Regions from separate parts of the Homo sapiens genome. Here region 2 is linked to region 1. The links are contacts of gene promoters, found by promoter capture Hi-C in blood cells and fetal thymus (Javierre and others, 2016). All regions are on one chromosome and are shown on one strand. Each heading gives the region's core, a stretch centred on a gene start or on the middle of the fragment in contact. The rest is flanking DNA. Distances are from core to core; before and after follow the strand shown.

The links. Contacts are between HindIII fragments. The CHiCAGO score rates a contact against its expected background, and 5 or more counts as called.
Region 2: a fragment that was not itself captured here is called in contact with the fragment with the promoter of ZNF425 in region 1 in 1 of 17 cell types (total B cells); the score reaches 5.5 in total B cells.

Annotation. Positions count from the first base shown.
Region 1 is chr7:149,125,051-149,132,612 of GRCh38, reverse strand. It overlaps ZNF425 (zinc finger protein 425), which reads left to right and starts at 6,289. Exons shown (of 4, transcript NM_001001661.3): 1 at 6,289-6,417. The coding sequence starts at 6,400. It also overlaps the pseudogene RN7SL521P and a transcript of ZNF398 not described here. RefSeq lists enhancers at 5,310-5,359, 6,023-6,574, 6,575-7,126, 7,374-7,562 and silencers at 5,520-5,959, 6,691-6,864. The HindIII fragment of the contact is 7,753 bases long and covers 1-7,501 here.
Region 2 is chr7:149,708,755-149,716,316 of GRCh38, reverse strand. It overlaps KRABD3 (KRAB domain containing 3), which reads right to left and starts at 1,366. Exons shown (of 17, transcript NM_001290187.2): 1 at 1,251-1,366. The coding sequence starts at 1,262. RefSeq lists enhancers at 444-1,076, 1,714-2,213 and silencers at 1,279-1,718, 2,545-2,839. The HindIII fragment of the contact is 1,268 bases long and covers 3,064-4,331 here.

The DNA.
Region 1 (7,562 bases), core at 5,040-7,539:
CCCTGGTAAATCAGACACCGCCTCCTCAAGCCTGCCTATAAAATCCGGTGCACTCCACTGAGGTCTAGAGGTCCCATACGGGTGCCTCTCTCTCTCGAAAGAGAGAAAGCTGTTCTCTAGGCCGGGCGGGGTGGCTAATGCCTGTATTCCCAGCGCTTTGGGAGGCTGAAGTGGGCAGATCACATGAGGTCAGGAGTTCGAGACCAGCCTGACAAACATGGAGAAACCCCATATCTACTAAAAATACAAAATTAGCAGGGCGTGGTGGCACATGCCTGTAATCTCAGCTACTCGGGAGGCTGAGGCAGGAGAATCAGTTGAACCTGGGAGGTGGAGGTTGCAGTGAGCCAAGATCACAGCATTGCACTACAGCCTGGGGGACAGAGCAAGACTCTGTCTCAAAAAAAAAAAAAAAAAAGAGAGAGAGAATATAAGGAAGTCGGTGGAGTAATAAATTGATATAACCTCTTCTGAGCAACTTAGTAGTGTATCGATTATAAATAAGTAGACCTTTTGATCAAGCAATATTTTTCTAGGAACGTATTCTATAAATATATTTGCAAATGTAAGATTCATCAAAAGCAATACTTGATGCTTTTTGACTATAAACTAAAATTTGACTATAAACAAAACGTCTAGTAGAGGACTGGATGAATAAATTGTGGTAAATTGGTATGCTGCGTAGCTATCAAAGAAGGTGTGAACATATTTAAAATGTCTAAAACTGTTTAAAAGTGTCAAAAGCAAAGAATTTTCCACTAGGATAATAGACTAAGCTAAAACAGGAAACCCTCCCCGCTACTTCAAATTCAATAGAAATGCTAAGTAAAATATATATTTTTAAATGTTTCCAAAGCTGGATTATGGCTGGGGCTTATTACATTGTTCTGCATATGTTTTTTGTTTGTTTGTTTTGTTTTGTTTTTGAGGCAGAGTCTCACTCTTGTTGCCCAGGCTGGAGTGCAGTGGCCCGATCTTGGCTCACTGCAACCAACGCCTCCAAGGTTTAAGCAATTCTCCTGCCTCAGCCTCCCGAGTAGCTGGGACTACAGGCGTCCGCCACCACACCCAGCTAATTTCTGTATTTGTAGTAGAGATGGGGTTTCACCGTATTGGCCAGGATTGTCTCAATCTCCTGATCTCGTGATCCATCAGCCTCTGCCTCCCAAATTGCTGGGATTACAGGTGTGAGCCACCACACCCAGCCTGTTCTAATATGTTAAAAGAATTGCCCATAGTAAAATCTTTCCTTAATAAAAAGTCCATATTTATCAACCTGAGAAAAATGCAATTGAAAAATGGACAAGGAGCAAGAACAAAAACTTAACTAGAAGTTGGCAATTTAGCACGTAATAAGAATTTTTTGTATCATTAGCAACTAGGGAAATCCAAATAAAAACTACATTGAGATACCCCTACACTGAAACAGACCCAATTGCCCTATAGAACTGATGTTTATGGTTTCTTTGAATAAACACAGTAACTGATCCTTTTAGTCTTAAAACTTGAGACAGTTACATTTGTCTTATCTGAGTTCCTTTCTCAGGAAAGCAACCATCAGGCCTCCCAGATAGTATTAACCAGTTGAAACTCACAGGATCACTGAATTTGGACAATGAAAGTCAGACCCCTCACCCATCATGATTGCCTAACCCACCACCTGCTTCCTGTTGACCAAACCCTCTTCCTTACCCCTAACCAATTCATGTTTTTCCACATATGGTTACATTTCCTCCCAGCAATAGAAGCCGCTCATTTTAGCCTGTCAGGGAGATGGATTTGAGACTGATCTCCCATCTCCCATCTCCCATCTCCTCAGCAGTAACACCCAATTAAAGCCTTCTTCGTTGGCAACACTTGTTGTTGTCATGATTGGCTTTCTGAGCCACAAACAGCAGCACCTAGACCAAACCCCTGGTGTTTCAGCAACACCACCATTGATTAGAATGTCTAACGGTTTTTTTAAATGCTAAAAATACCAAATAAAGAACGTGGGCCAACTGAACTCTCATGCGTTCACAAGGGGAACACATAATAGTACAGTCACTCTTAAAAATGGTTTGCTAGTTCCTTGTAAAATTAAATATACATATTTACCGTGACTCAGCAGTCCCACTCCTGGGTATCTACCTTAAAGAAATAAAAATTTATTTTCACACAAAAACCTGTATGCAAATGTTTATAGCAGCTCTATTCAGAATTCCAAAACTTGGAAAAGGCTGGGCACAGTTGCTCATTCCTGTCATCCCAGCACTTTGGGAGGCCAAGGCAGGCGGATCACTTGAGGTTAGGAGTTTGAAACCAGCCTGGCCAACATGGTGAAACCCCTTCTCTACTAAAAATACAAAAATTAGCCAGGTGGGGTGGTGTGCACCTGTAATCCCACCTACTCAGGAGGCTGAGGTGGGGGAGTCGCTTGAACCCCAGAGGTGGAGGTTGCAGTGAGCCGAGATCATGCCACTGCACTCCAGCCTGGGCAACAGAGTGAGACTCCATCTCAAAAATAAATAAATAGGCCGGGTGCAGTGGCTCATGCCTGTAATCTCAGTACTTTGGGAGGCTGAGGCAGGCAGATCACCTGAGGTTGGGAGTTCGAGACCAGCCTGACCAACATGGAGAAACCCCGTCTCTACCAAAAATACAAAATAGCCAGGCGTGGTGGCACATGCCTGTAATCCCAGTTACTAGGGAGGCTGAGGCAGGAGAATCGCTTGAACCTGGGAGGCGGAGGTTGCGGTGAGCTGAGATTACTCCATTGCACTCCAGACTGGGCAACAAGAGCAAAACTCCATCTCAAAAAATAAATAAATAAATAAACAAATAAGTATAAAAAATAATAAAACGGAAAAAATACAAATATCCTTCAATGGATAAATACTCTTCAGTATATCATAACATGGAATACTATCAGCAATTAAAATAAAACTGTTGTAGGCCAGGCGCAGTGGCTCATGCCTGTAATCCCAGCGCTTTGGGAGGCCGAGGTGGGTGGATCACCTGAGGTCAGGAGTTGGAGAACAGCCTGACCAATATGGTGAAACCCTGTGTCTACTAGAAATATAAAAATTACCTGGGTGTGGTGGGATGCACCTGTAGTCCCAGCTACTCGGGAGGCTGAAACAGGAGAATCATTTGAACCTGGGAGGTGGAGGTTGCAGTGAGCCAAGATCGAGCCACTGCACTCTAGCCTGGGCAACAGAGCAAGACTCCGTCTCAAAAAAATAACAATAAAAAATAAATAAAATAAACTGTTTTCACACACAATGATATGGATACCAACTAAATTGTGACCTTTTTTCCTTTCTTGTCCAAATTTCTAACTAAGGGACATAGGAAATCATGCCCTACAAACTATAAAAATCTCACCAGAAGGGTTTTATTTAACCCTATATAACCGCTTAGTTTCCAACCTGACTCTGGCATAACATTGCATGACAAAGAAGGAAATCAAAATATTTTATCCCCAAATATGCTTCTTTGCAGTATATATTATATATTTATATGAAAATATAGGGCCAGGCACAGTGGCTCATGCCTGTAATCCCAGCACTTTGGGAGGCCGAGGTAGGTGGATCACGAGGTCAAGAGTTGAAGACTAGCCTGGCCAACATGGTGAAACCCCATCTCTACTAAGAATACAAAAATTAGCCCAATGTGGTGGCACATACCTGTAATCCCAACTACTTGGGAGGCTGAGGCAGGAGAATCGCTTGAACCTGGGAGGCGGAGGTTGCAGTGAGCCAAGATCACACCACTCTACTCCAGCCTAGGCAACAGAGCAAGACTACGTCTGGAAAAAACCCAACAAACAAACAATATATATATATATATAATTTTATTTTATTTTATTTTATTTTTTTGAGACAGAGTCTCCCTCTGTCTTCCTCTCTCACCCAGGCTGTAGTGTCAGCACAATCTGTGCTCACTGCAACCTTCGCCTCCCAGGCTCAAGTAATCCTCCCACCTCTGCCTCCCAAATAGCTGAGATTAACGTCTTTGCCACTGTGCTGACAAAATCTTGTATTTTCTGTAGAGATGGGGTTTCGCCATGTTGCCCAGGCTGGTCTTCAACTCCTGTGCTCAGGCAATCCTACTGCCTCAGCCTCCCAAAGTGCTGGGATTACAGACGTGAGCTACTGCGCCCGGCCAGAGAATCTAGCACCTTTTAAAGGTTTAAATAGGAAATTTTTGCCATCTAAAGACAGTCACTATGAGACATCCTAAGAATCTTGGTCTCCACAACCCCTTATCTTAACCCAGACACTCCTTTCTATGAACCTGGTCTTCAGATAGCCAATTGCCAATCAGAAAATCGCTGAATCCGCCTGTGACCTGTAAGCACCGCTTGGAGTTGTCCCGCCTTTCCTGACAGAACCAGTGTACACTTTACATGTATTGACTGATGTCTTAAGTCTTCCCAAAACGTGTAAAATCAAGCTGTAACCCAACCACCTTGGATACATGTTCTTAGGACCTCTTCAGACAGTACCTTGGCCTTCCTCACTCATATTTGGCTCAGAATAAACTTCTAAATATTTTACAGTTTGACTCTTCGTAAACATGGATGAATCACAAAAGCATTACGCTTTTGAGGAGCCAGTCACAAAAGGTTATATCATACTGTATGATTCCATTTATATACCATTTCTAAAAAGAGAAAACTAGGTTTCAAGAGCAGATCAGTCCTTGCCAAGGATCCAGGTGTCGGAGGGAGTGACCATAAAGCAAATGAAGCACAGAAGAGAATGGCAGCACAAGGAGTTTCAGGGTGGGACAGGGCTCTTCCGTATCCTGGTTACAGTGGTTACTACACGTATACATACATATGTGAAAATTCATAGAACTTTACACCCAAAGAAACGTTAGTTTTTTTGTTTGTTTGTTTTTGGTTTTTTTGAGATGGAGTCTCCCTCTGTCGCCCAGGCTGGAGTGCAGTGGCGCGATCTCGGCTCACTGCAAGCTCCGCCTCCCGGGTTCACGCCACTCTCCCGACTCAGCCTCCCTAGGAGCTGGGACTACAGGCGCCCGCCACAACGCTCGGCTATTTTTTTTTTTTTTTTTTTTGTATTTTTAGTAGAGACGGGGTTTCGCCGTTAGCCAGGATGGTCTCGCTCTCCTGACCTCGTGATCCGCCCGCCTCCGCCTCCCAAAGTGCTGGGATTACAGGCGTGAGGCACCGCGCCCATCCGAAACGTTAGTTTTAATGTAAGGTTTTTTTTTTTTAACCCTTTAATCAGTAAGGTGCATCTACATTTCACGATTCCGGGACAAATACAGATGTGCACACGCTCCTCAGCCTATGCAGGGACTACTTTCTCATGGACATCCTTTCTAACTACACACTTTTCATTTGTTACTTTAGCCTGACACCTAAAACATGACTAGGACAGAATGCGAGGTTGATTTTCTGGGGACAGTCGCCACCCCCTTCCTTGCCCTCTCTCTCCTTTCTGTCTCTCCCTGGTTTCCCCTTCTGCGTCTTCCCACCTCTCCCGTTTTTGCGTCTTCGTGTTTCTCACGCCCTGTGTCATGGCCTCCTCCGTCTTCTCCCGCTCTGTCACAGTCTCCCGCCGGGGGCTAGGGGTGCCCGGCCCGCATCCCTGGGCGACCCTGAGTCCCCGCAGGCGGCCCCGAGGCCGGGGTGGCTTCCGCATGGGGTCTCTGCCCGAGGCCTTTCTCTGCCAAGGAGGGAGTGTGGACGCTCGGGGAGCCCAGAAGGGCGCTGCACCCACGGGGACCGGACGTGGTGGGCGGACCCCTCCTCCGCGTCCCCGACGGGACATGCCCGGGGCCCACACGGCCTCCGCGCCCCCGGCGGGACGGACACCCCGGGCCACCGCGCGCCCCCCACCACCTACCCGGCCTCGCTGGATTCCCGGGACCCCCTCACAAACGAAACCCTCGAGCTCATCCCTGACTTGGGGGCAGCTTTGGAAGGAACAGCACCGGACTCTCACCCTCTCGCTGCCTCTCAGTCCGGGTTTCTGTGGAGCGCGTCTCCCAGTCGCTGTCCCTACTCTCTCCCTGTTCCTGCTCTCTCCATGTTCACCTGCCCCTCCGTTTCCCCTCCCGTCAGCTCCCTCATCTCGTCTTCGACCGCATCCCTCGCATGCAGATCCGGGAGTCCAAGGGTCCCTCAAAGACCGGCGTGCTGCGGCCCGCACGGAGGGTGCCCGGGCCCCTCCTCTGAGGACCGACTCCCTCTGGCGGCGCCGCTCCTCCCGCCCGCAGGGGGCGCTATGGGGCGGAGCGGCTTCCGCTTCCGAGCGCCGAGTCCCAGCATGCACCGCGCCCGGCCGGCTCTGCCTTTGGGGGCCAGCAGGGCTGTACCTGGGAGTTGGGTTGGGGCGGAGCGGAGGGGAGGCCGTGCCAGGCAGGGCCGGTTCGTGCGGAACCGCCATGGCCGAGCCGGCTTCGGTAAGAAGGGCCGGTGGAGGATGCAGGCTCTGTCGAAACTCGGGTCCCTGTCGCAGCTGGATTGGGGTCCGCGTCCAGGGAGTGGGGCGGCCGGGGCCTGGGCCTGGGGGTTGGCAGTGGCCCACGGACTGAGCTCCGGGCTGGGCTGGAGAAGGTGCAGTCTTGCTGCGTGTGCTGTTCTGGAATTGACCTGGGGAAAAGCTGGTCTGGCCGGGCTTGGCCGCGCGCGTCTGTGGCCCCGGCCACTCGGAAGGCTGAGGCGGGAGCAGCGCTTGAGCCCGGGAGCTCTGCGCTGTATATGCGCTAGGTCCGTCGCGCGGTGCCTCTGAGTTCTGCATCTGTGTGGTGACCTCTCGGGAGCGGGGACCACCAGGTTCCCCAGGGAGGGGGAACCGGCCCAGCTCGGAAACCGAGCAGGGCAAAACCCCAGTGCTGATCGTTAGTGGGATCGCGCCTGTGAATAGCCACTGCCCTCCAGCCTGGGCAACAGCCAGACCCCGTCTGTTTAATACATAAATAAAAGTTGGTTTGGGAGAAAGAATCCGGGTGGGAAAGATCTGTTTCTCGGCCTGTTGTAGGCTCAGATCAACAACGCTGTCCCTGCCTTCAGTGTCGGGGCTCTGAACCTCGGGGTCTCTCTGGGGCCCGTGCTCTCCTGCTGAAGGTAGTTTCAGAGAAGCACATCAGTGTTAAGCAGATGAGAAAAAGGAGAAGGAAAGCTGGAACTGAGAGAAATTGGAGACCGCTCCCTCTAGGAAAGGACAGAAAACTTAAAATGAATTGGGTGGTTAGCGTAAATCGAATTTACCGTAAATGCTGTAGTATTGTAATGTAGTATTGAAAATTTGAGCACCGGTTTTAGAGTTTGAAAGGCGTATCCTGAGGCTTAATCCAAGAAACCCTGTTACATTCAGTTAAGTATAACTTGCTTAAGTGTGCAAGTTTTTCTTGTGCCCCCAATGAAATTTTATAATCTTAGGAATGTAATGCTCCTTATTTGCATTTGATTCTTCCCTTTTGCTTCCCACTCCTTTTCCCCACCCTCCTTTGGCAGGTACAGATTCTTTTCTGATTTCTCCAAGCTTTGTTTCTACAGCCAGGCTTTCTTTTTTTCTCTCCTCTTTAAGTGATTGGGAATCTCCTGG
Region 2 (7,562 bases), core at 2,448-4,947, 590 kb before region 1:
CTAGCTCATAGCTGCACACTGGTCCTCCTAACATCACCCTTCCACCGTGTCACTAGCCCAGCACAAAAACTGCAGCTTCAGTGCCTGCTGGACCTGCCCCTCTCTCACAGTCCTTCCCAACCTAGACCTGCTCTCCCAGTGGGCCTCAGGCTCGGGCTCCCTGATCAGACCCTGCCACAGGACCTCTCAACCTGGAGGCTGTGCTCACATTGCCCTGGGCTTCTGGGAACCCTCCCTGCTCCTCTCCACCTTACAGTGACCTACCACTCCCCAAGGTCACTCCTGGCCACCTTCTCCATGAAGCTACGTAGTGTGAGGATATTCCCCTCATCAGATCTGAAAGGTCAATGGCCCAAACTCCTCACTTTACAGAACAGGAAACTGTGGTATGAGGAGGCCTTAGGATGGGGCCATGGGCATGTCTGAACCAGGGTGTCCCTAGGCTACTTAACTGTGCAGCCAGACCTGAAAAGGACACTTGACTGTCCCTGCCCAACAACATCCAATTTGCCTAGCCTCTCCCTTCTCCCCAAATGCTTGGGGGCACTAATGACGCCAAGGGCCTGGCACAGTGTTTGCTCTGCCTAGTCACACGCTGCCCCCCATCCATGGCTGCCTCGGACTGGCCAAAGCTCAGGAGCCACCACGGTTGCAGAACTGGCTCCAGGTGCCCATCCAGAAGAACGTGGAGCAGTTGCTGGTATCAGCACCAGATACCTGATACCTCACTGATATCAGCACCAGAGTTTCCCAGCATCGTCACAGCCCACACACAACCTAGCCCAAACGGTGCCCAGGCTGTCACGGCCTGGGGCTCTCCCTCCAGTTCTCAGATCTAAACGCCTTACCTGCAGGCTTCCCAAGACAAAACTTGGGGTTTGTTCTATCTTTGTTTCTCCCCATTTCCACGTCCCCAGCCCCCGGGATCCAGGATTCCACCAAGAACAGAAGTATGAGATTTACTCACTGCCTCCGAGGCCTTCATGCCCACTCTACCAGGATAACTTGTAACGAAACAAGCCACGCCAAGGGGGTTTCCCCAGGTGGAGACTGGGCCGTGGGTACCGGCGGCGGAGAGCTGGAGAGAGGTTGTCCGAGGACCTGAACTTCCCGGCACGAACCCCTGAGCATCAGGCCTGCCCAGCCTCACCCAGCCGATCCCGAAGTTGCGGGGGGGTCCCAGCTCTTTCTCGCCCTACCGCCTTCGGGGCCGCACTGCGCCGAGGGGTCCGCGCGTCCGCCTGCCTTACCTGGCGCGCCATCCCCGGGCTCAGCCTCCCCGCCACTCCTCGGTTTCCGGCGCGGGCCCTGGCGCGGGCGCACGCGACCCTCGTCGGCGGCGGCCCAGGTCCGCGCAGGAGAAGGCGGGGCCGGGGGCCTGGGCCGAGGGGGAGGGGCGGGGGTGGGCGCGCCCGGGCCCGCCCCCGGCCTCGTTGAGCCCGCCCCGAGCGCCTCGCATCCCTTGGTGGGTGGTGCCGTTTCCGCCCGGAGCCCCCGGCTTCGGCGGCCCGGCCGGCCGGCGCAGACGCGGACTACACTTCCCAGAAGGCGCCGCGGCGCCGGCTCGGAAGCGGGGGGCGGAGACAGGGCGGGGCGGACCTGGCTCGGGCCTCGTCCCCGCCCCCTCCCCTCGTCCCCGCCCCCAGCTGCGGGTAGAGGTTGCGCGCCGAGACCAGCCGGGGCGGCTGTGGGCGTGCAAGCCCGCGGGTACGCGCCGCTTATCACTCATTCATTCCCGCAGCCACCACTCAGCGCGTCCCATGTGCCAGGGGCTGATGGTGGGGATGAAGAGGGACCCATCTTTCCCAGAGGCCGCGGTCGGGGAAACCCGACCTGGAGTGAAAGGGGTCGAGGGTCCGGCCGGGCGTGGGTGGGACAGAGCAGCTGCCAGGCCCCCGTACATCCTCACGTCTTTCGCCCGCGCCCCCGCTCGCCGCAGCCATGACCTACCTTCGTGTCACATTTTGCGTGCCTGTTTGCTGGGGTGGTAACCCCAGTTGTTCCTGGCACATAGTAGGCCTCAAATAAACGTGTGATGCGGGAAGGAAGCGCGGCCCACTCTCCTCTGCCTCCCCCTGCGCTTCACGAGTTCGAAGGCCTGGTCTGGGCGGGCGCTGCGAGAGCGCTCCGGGGGTGCGGGCGAGGCGCAGCGAGCCTGGTTTTCCTGTCTGGAGAAGGACCCCGTCATTTTTATAGAAGGCTGCTGGAAGGGGGCCTGCGGGGCTAAGCCTGCTGTGCCAGACAGAAGCTTGGAGGGGAAGGGGAGGCTGTGGTCCCACGCAGAGGAGACTCTGCTCTGAGTTTGGAAGCCCCGTCCAGACCTTGCGGCCCAGACAGCGCTCTGCCTGGGCAATATCGGAGGGAAGGAAAGGGAATTCCTCGCCCAGTCGCCCGGGGCTGGCCCTTGCAGCCGCGCCGGCCATGATCACGGACTCGGGTACGATGCCGACAACCCCTCGTCCCGGCCTCCGAGGAAAGGCGCACGCCCACTCGGGCAAAGCCCCCTCGGTCATACCCGAGACACCTTAGACACAGGACCGGCGTGTGCGCAGCCTGCTGAACAAGGATTTGAAGATATCACAAGGCCCCACCTCGCGGAAAGGGAAAACTTAAAAGTCCAACTTTTCAAGAGCCCTACAGGCCACAGCCCTCAGGGTAAGTCGCCTCCTGGGCTTTAGGCCGGGTCCCACCTCCGTGCCGAGGTGAGGCGGGCTCCTTACAGTAATGTGTTCCTGCTCCCAGCTCCTCTCCACCGCCCACCCTCCGGCCCGGGATCCCTAAACGTTAAAACCCCCTAAATCAGGGGTCCCCAACCTTTTGGGCCAGAGCCCGGTTTTGTGGAAGGGAATTTTTGCATGGACTGGGAGGGGGGTTGTTTTGGGATGAAACTGTTCCAACTCAGATCACCAGGCATTAGATTCTCCTAAGGAGCCCGCAACCTGGATCCCGCATTCACAACAGGGTTCTGGCTCCTATGAGAATCCAGCACCTGCAGATCTGACAGGAGGCAGAGCTCAGGGGTAATGCGAGCAAGGGGGAGTGGCTGTAACTACAGATAAAGCTTTCCCTGGCTTGCCCGCAGCTCACCTCCTGCTGCACTGCCCAGCTCCTAACAGGCCAGGACTGGTACTGGTCCATAGCCCAGGGACTGGGGACCCCTGCCTTAAACTTAAACACCTGTAGAAAGAAATCTCTATCCAAGTAAGATGCACCTTTGTTTTAAGCTGTGCAGATTCTTGGCACCTCTTTGACTCAAACGTCCACTTCCTGGCTAGGCTTCCTGCCCCATTTGTGGACCATCAGTCGCTAAAAGCAGTTCACCAACATGAAATTTGCTGCATGGCCAATTATTTAAATTATGGAGACACTTCCTGGCACCCCTATCCCCCAAATTTTAGTTGCGCCTTTGACCCTGTAGACCTGTATTTACCTCAGCCCGTGTGTGTGCGTTAAAAAATAGTTGTGAAGACCTGTCCTGAACCAGGTTTATTGGATGGCTCTGGACACAGACAAAGGCAGGAGTGGAGCTGAAACACATCTTTAAAAATTCCTTGGCTGGGGCCAGGCACGGTGGCTCACACCTGTAATCCCAGCACTTTGGGAGGCCAAGGCTGGTGAATTGCTTGGGCCTGGGAGTTCCAAACCAGCCTAGGCAACATGATGAAACCCCATCTCTACAAAAAATGCAAAAATTAGCCAGGTGCAGTGGTGTACCCCTGTAGTCCCAGCTGCTTGGAAGGCTGAGGTGGGAGAATCTCTTGAGCCCAGGAGGCAGAGGGGGGTTGCAGTGAGCCAAGATCACACCACAGCACTCCAGCCTGGGTGACAGAGCAAGACCCTGTCTCAAAAAAAAAAAAAAAAAATTTCAATAATTCAGATTGGTTGTTTAGCAAGTTGATATTCAGTGGTTTAGCTTTTACCATATTTGGCTTTTGGCTATCTGGTCATTCTGTGAATTGACTTTTGGTGAACTAGTCGGCACTTTTCCCAAATGAATCTAAAGGCAAATTGTGCTGGCCAGTCCTCCATGTGAAAATGGCTGCAACTTTAAAATATTTTCTGATTTTCATTATTATTTCTTTTTCCATCCATGAGATTATTTAAAAGTACTTTTTAATTTCCAAATACGAATCTTTTTATGAGTTATTTTGTTTTTGAGTTTTGCCTTATAGTCAGAGAATGTAGTAAGTGATGTTGATTTTTTAGAATTTTCTGAGACTGCTTTGTGGCCAAGTGTGCAATAGATGTTTGAAAATGTTCCATGTTTGCCTAAAAGAGTACATATATTCTAATATTGGTGTAGGATCTAGTTAGAGCTGTAAAATCAAGCTTATCAATCATGTGGTTTATGCCTTCTATAGTTTATCATCTTTTTGCATTTGGAACTATCAGTTACTAAAGAGGTGTTAAAATCTCATATCAAGTTTGTGCATTTGTCAATTTCTCCCTGAATTTGTGAGAATTTTCGCTTCATGTGTTTGGAGGCTGTGTGCTTACAAATTTAGAATTGTAGTATTTTCCTGGAGAATTGTTCATTCTATTATTAGAAAGTAACACTATCCCTAATAATAGTCTTTGTCTATAATCCATTTTGTTTGATATTGCTGCAGCTACACTAACTTTATTTTGGCAAGTATTTCTTTGATATATCTTTTCCTGTCCTTTTACTTTCAAACTTTGTGTATATTTATGTTTCAGATGTGTGTCATATAAGAGCATGTAGCTAGATTTTGTTGTTGCTGCTGAATCCAGTCTGACAATCTCTATCATAATCATGAATCTACTGATTTGAAAGTTATGCTTTCCTTTTTTATTCATTTGGGGGTTACTCTGTAATTTTACACACATATTTGGTTTAATAGAATCTAATATTACTACTTCTGATCTTCTCGCAAATGATAGAAAGCTTTTTGAATATGAGTTTAATCACACTCTTCCCCTTCTGTCTTGTGTGTAATTATTGTTCTTTTTAGTTACATCTTGTTTTTAAGACTCTCTCCTGATATTTGAAGTCATTGTTTTTGTTTTATACAATCTATGCTGTTTAGATTTACCAATGTGCTTACCACTATCTTTGTTCACTCTTTTTTCTTGCCTCTTTCTTCTTCCTTCTGGGTTCAATGTTCTTCCTGAAGCAGAACTTTTAAAATTTATTTCAGCAAGGATATTTTAGAAGTGGATACTTTCAGTTATATAAAATGTCTTACATTTTTCTCACTCCTGAATGATACTTTAGCCAGGGAGAGAACTGTTTCACACTTCTAATATTTTATTCCATTGTCTCCTGACTTTCATTGTTGCTATTGAAAAGTCTGCTGTCAGTCTAATTATTCCTTTGCATATGATTTAACTTCTCTGGCTTCATTTAAAATCATCTGTTTGGCCGGGCATGGTGGCTCACACCTGTAATCCCAGCATTTTGGGAGGCTGAAGCGGGAGGATCACCTGAGGTCAGGAGTTTGAGACCAGCCTGACCAACCTGGAGAAACCCCGACTCTACTAAAAATACAAAAAAAATTAGCCAGGCATGGTGGTGCATGCTTGTAATACCAGCTACTCGGAGGCTAAGGCAGGAGAATCACTTGAATCCAGGAGGCAGAGGTTGCAGTGAGCAGAGATCGTACCATTGCACTCTAGCCTGGGCAACAAGAGCAAAACTCCATCTAAAAAAAAAAAAAAATCTCTTTATCTGTGGTATCATGAAGTTTCACTGCAATGTGGCTAGGTATGGATCTTTTATTTATCTTTCTTGGAACTCGTGAGTCCTAAATCTGAGGTGTCACATCTTTGTACAAGTCTGGAAAATTCTCAGCTATTATATCTTTTAATATTGCCTCTTCCCAAGCTGGGCATGGTGGCTCATACCTGGAATCCCAGCACTTTGGGAGGCCGAGGCAAGTGGATCACGAGGTGAGGAGTTCGAGACCAGCCTGGCCAACATGGTGAAACCCCGTCTCTACTAAAAATACAAAATTTTAAAAATTAGCTGGGTGTGGTGGTGGGTGCCTGTAGTCCCAGCTACTCAGGAGGCTGAGGCAGGAGAATGGCATGAACCCAGGAGGCGGAGCTTGCAGTGAGCTGAGATCGTGTCACTGCACGACAGCCTGGGCAACAGAGACTCCGTCTAAAAAAAAAAAAAATTTAGGCCAGGTGTGGTGTCTCCCGCCTGTAATCCCAGCACTTTGGGAGGCCACAGTGGGCAGATCATCTGAGGTCAGGAGTTTGAGACCAGCCTGGCTAATATGGTGAAACCCTGCTTCTACTGAAATACAAAAAATTAGCCAGGCATGGTGACACACACCTGTAATCCCAGCTTCTCAGGAGGCTGAGGCAGGAGAGTTGCTTGAACCCAGGAAGCAGAGGTTGCAGTGAGCTGAGATCACGCCACTGCACTCCAGCCTGGGCAACAGAGCGAGACTCTGTCTCAAAAAATAAATAAATAATAATAAAATAAATATTGCCTCTTCCCCATTACACTTTCTTCTTGTGGAATTTGTATTTGACCTTTGTTGGACCCCTTTATTCTGCACCATCTCTTTTAGCTAGATATTTTTCATTTTTTTAGGCCTTTGTGCTTCATTCTTAGTGATTTTTAAAAGATTTACATTCTTTCATTCCTAAATCTCTCTTTAGTTTTGTCTAATGTGTGTTTAATCTGTTAATTAAATGATCAATTTTAGTGACTGCACTTTTCGTTTTAGATGTATCTGCTTTATCTTTAAAAAAAAAAAGCATAGGTGTCCACGCTTTCAATTCCTCATGTCTTAAAGATTTTTAAGTATCCTTACTTTATAGTATCTATCTGGTAACTCTATGGCCTGACTTTATGACTTTATTTTGTTTGGTGGCTCTCACTCATAATAGGCTGGTTCCTTGTATATTTTATTACTTTGAATTGTGAGGCCGTCTTAAGCCAGGCTTTATCAGTAGGAATCCTGTGCAGCCTGGCTTGAGGGTATGTCCTTCATGGTTTGTGTTTGCTTCTTTTGGATACTCTAGAATCATTGTCAGCCTGAGTACTTTTTTTTTTTTTGAGACGAAGTTTCACTCTTGTTGCCCGGGCTGGAGCACAATGGCGCAATCTCGGCTCACTGCAACCTCCGCCTCCCGGGTTCAAGCGATTCTCCTGCCTCAGCCTCCTGAGTAGCTGGGATTACAGGCGCCCGCCACCACACCTGGCTAATTTTTCTATATTTAGTAGAGACGGGGTTTCACCATGTTGACCAGGCTAGTCTTGAACTTCTGACCTCAGGTGATCCACCCACCTCAGCCTCCCGAAGTCCTGGGATTACAGGTGTGAGCCACCAGGGGATACTCTAGAATCATTGTTAGCCTGAGTACTTTGTATGTTAACTTTCAGGTTGAGGAATTTCTGAACCATGTAGGTGGTGTAAATTCAAAGCCATAACAAGTGTGAGGATAGATGTATGGTTATGGATTCTCAGGGGTGATGCCCTCTGCCTCCCTAGGAAGAGAAAGATGTCTTGTGTTCTTATGCTAGTGGATGCTTTTTTTTTTTTTCCTATGCTTTTACTAATATTATGGCTCTCTAAGAGTTTGAC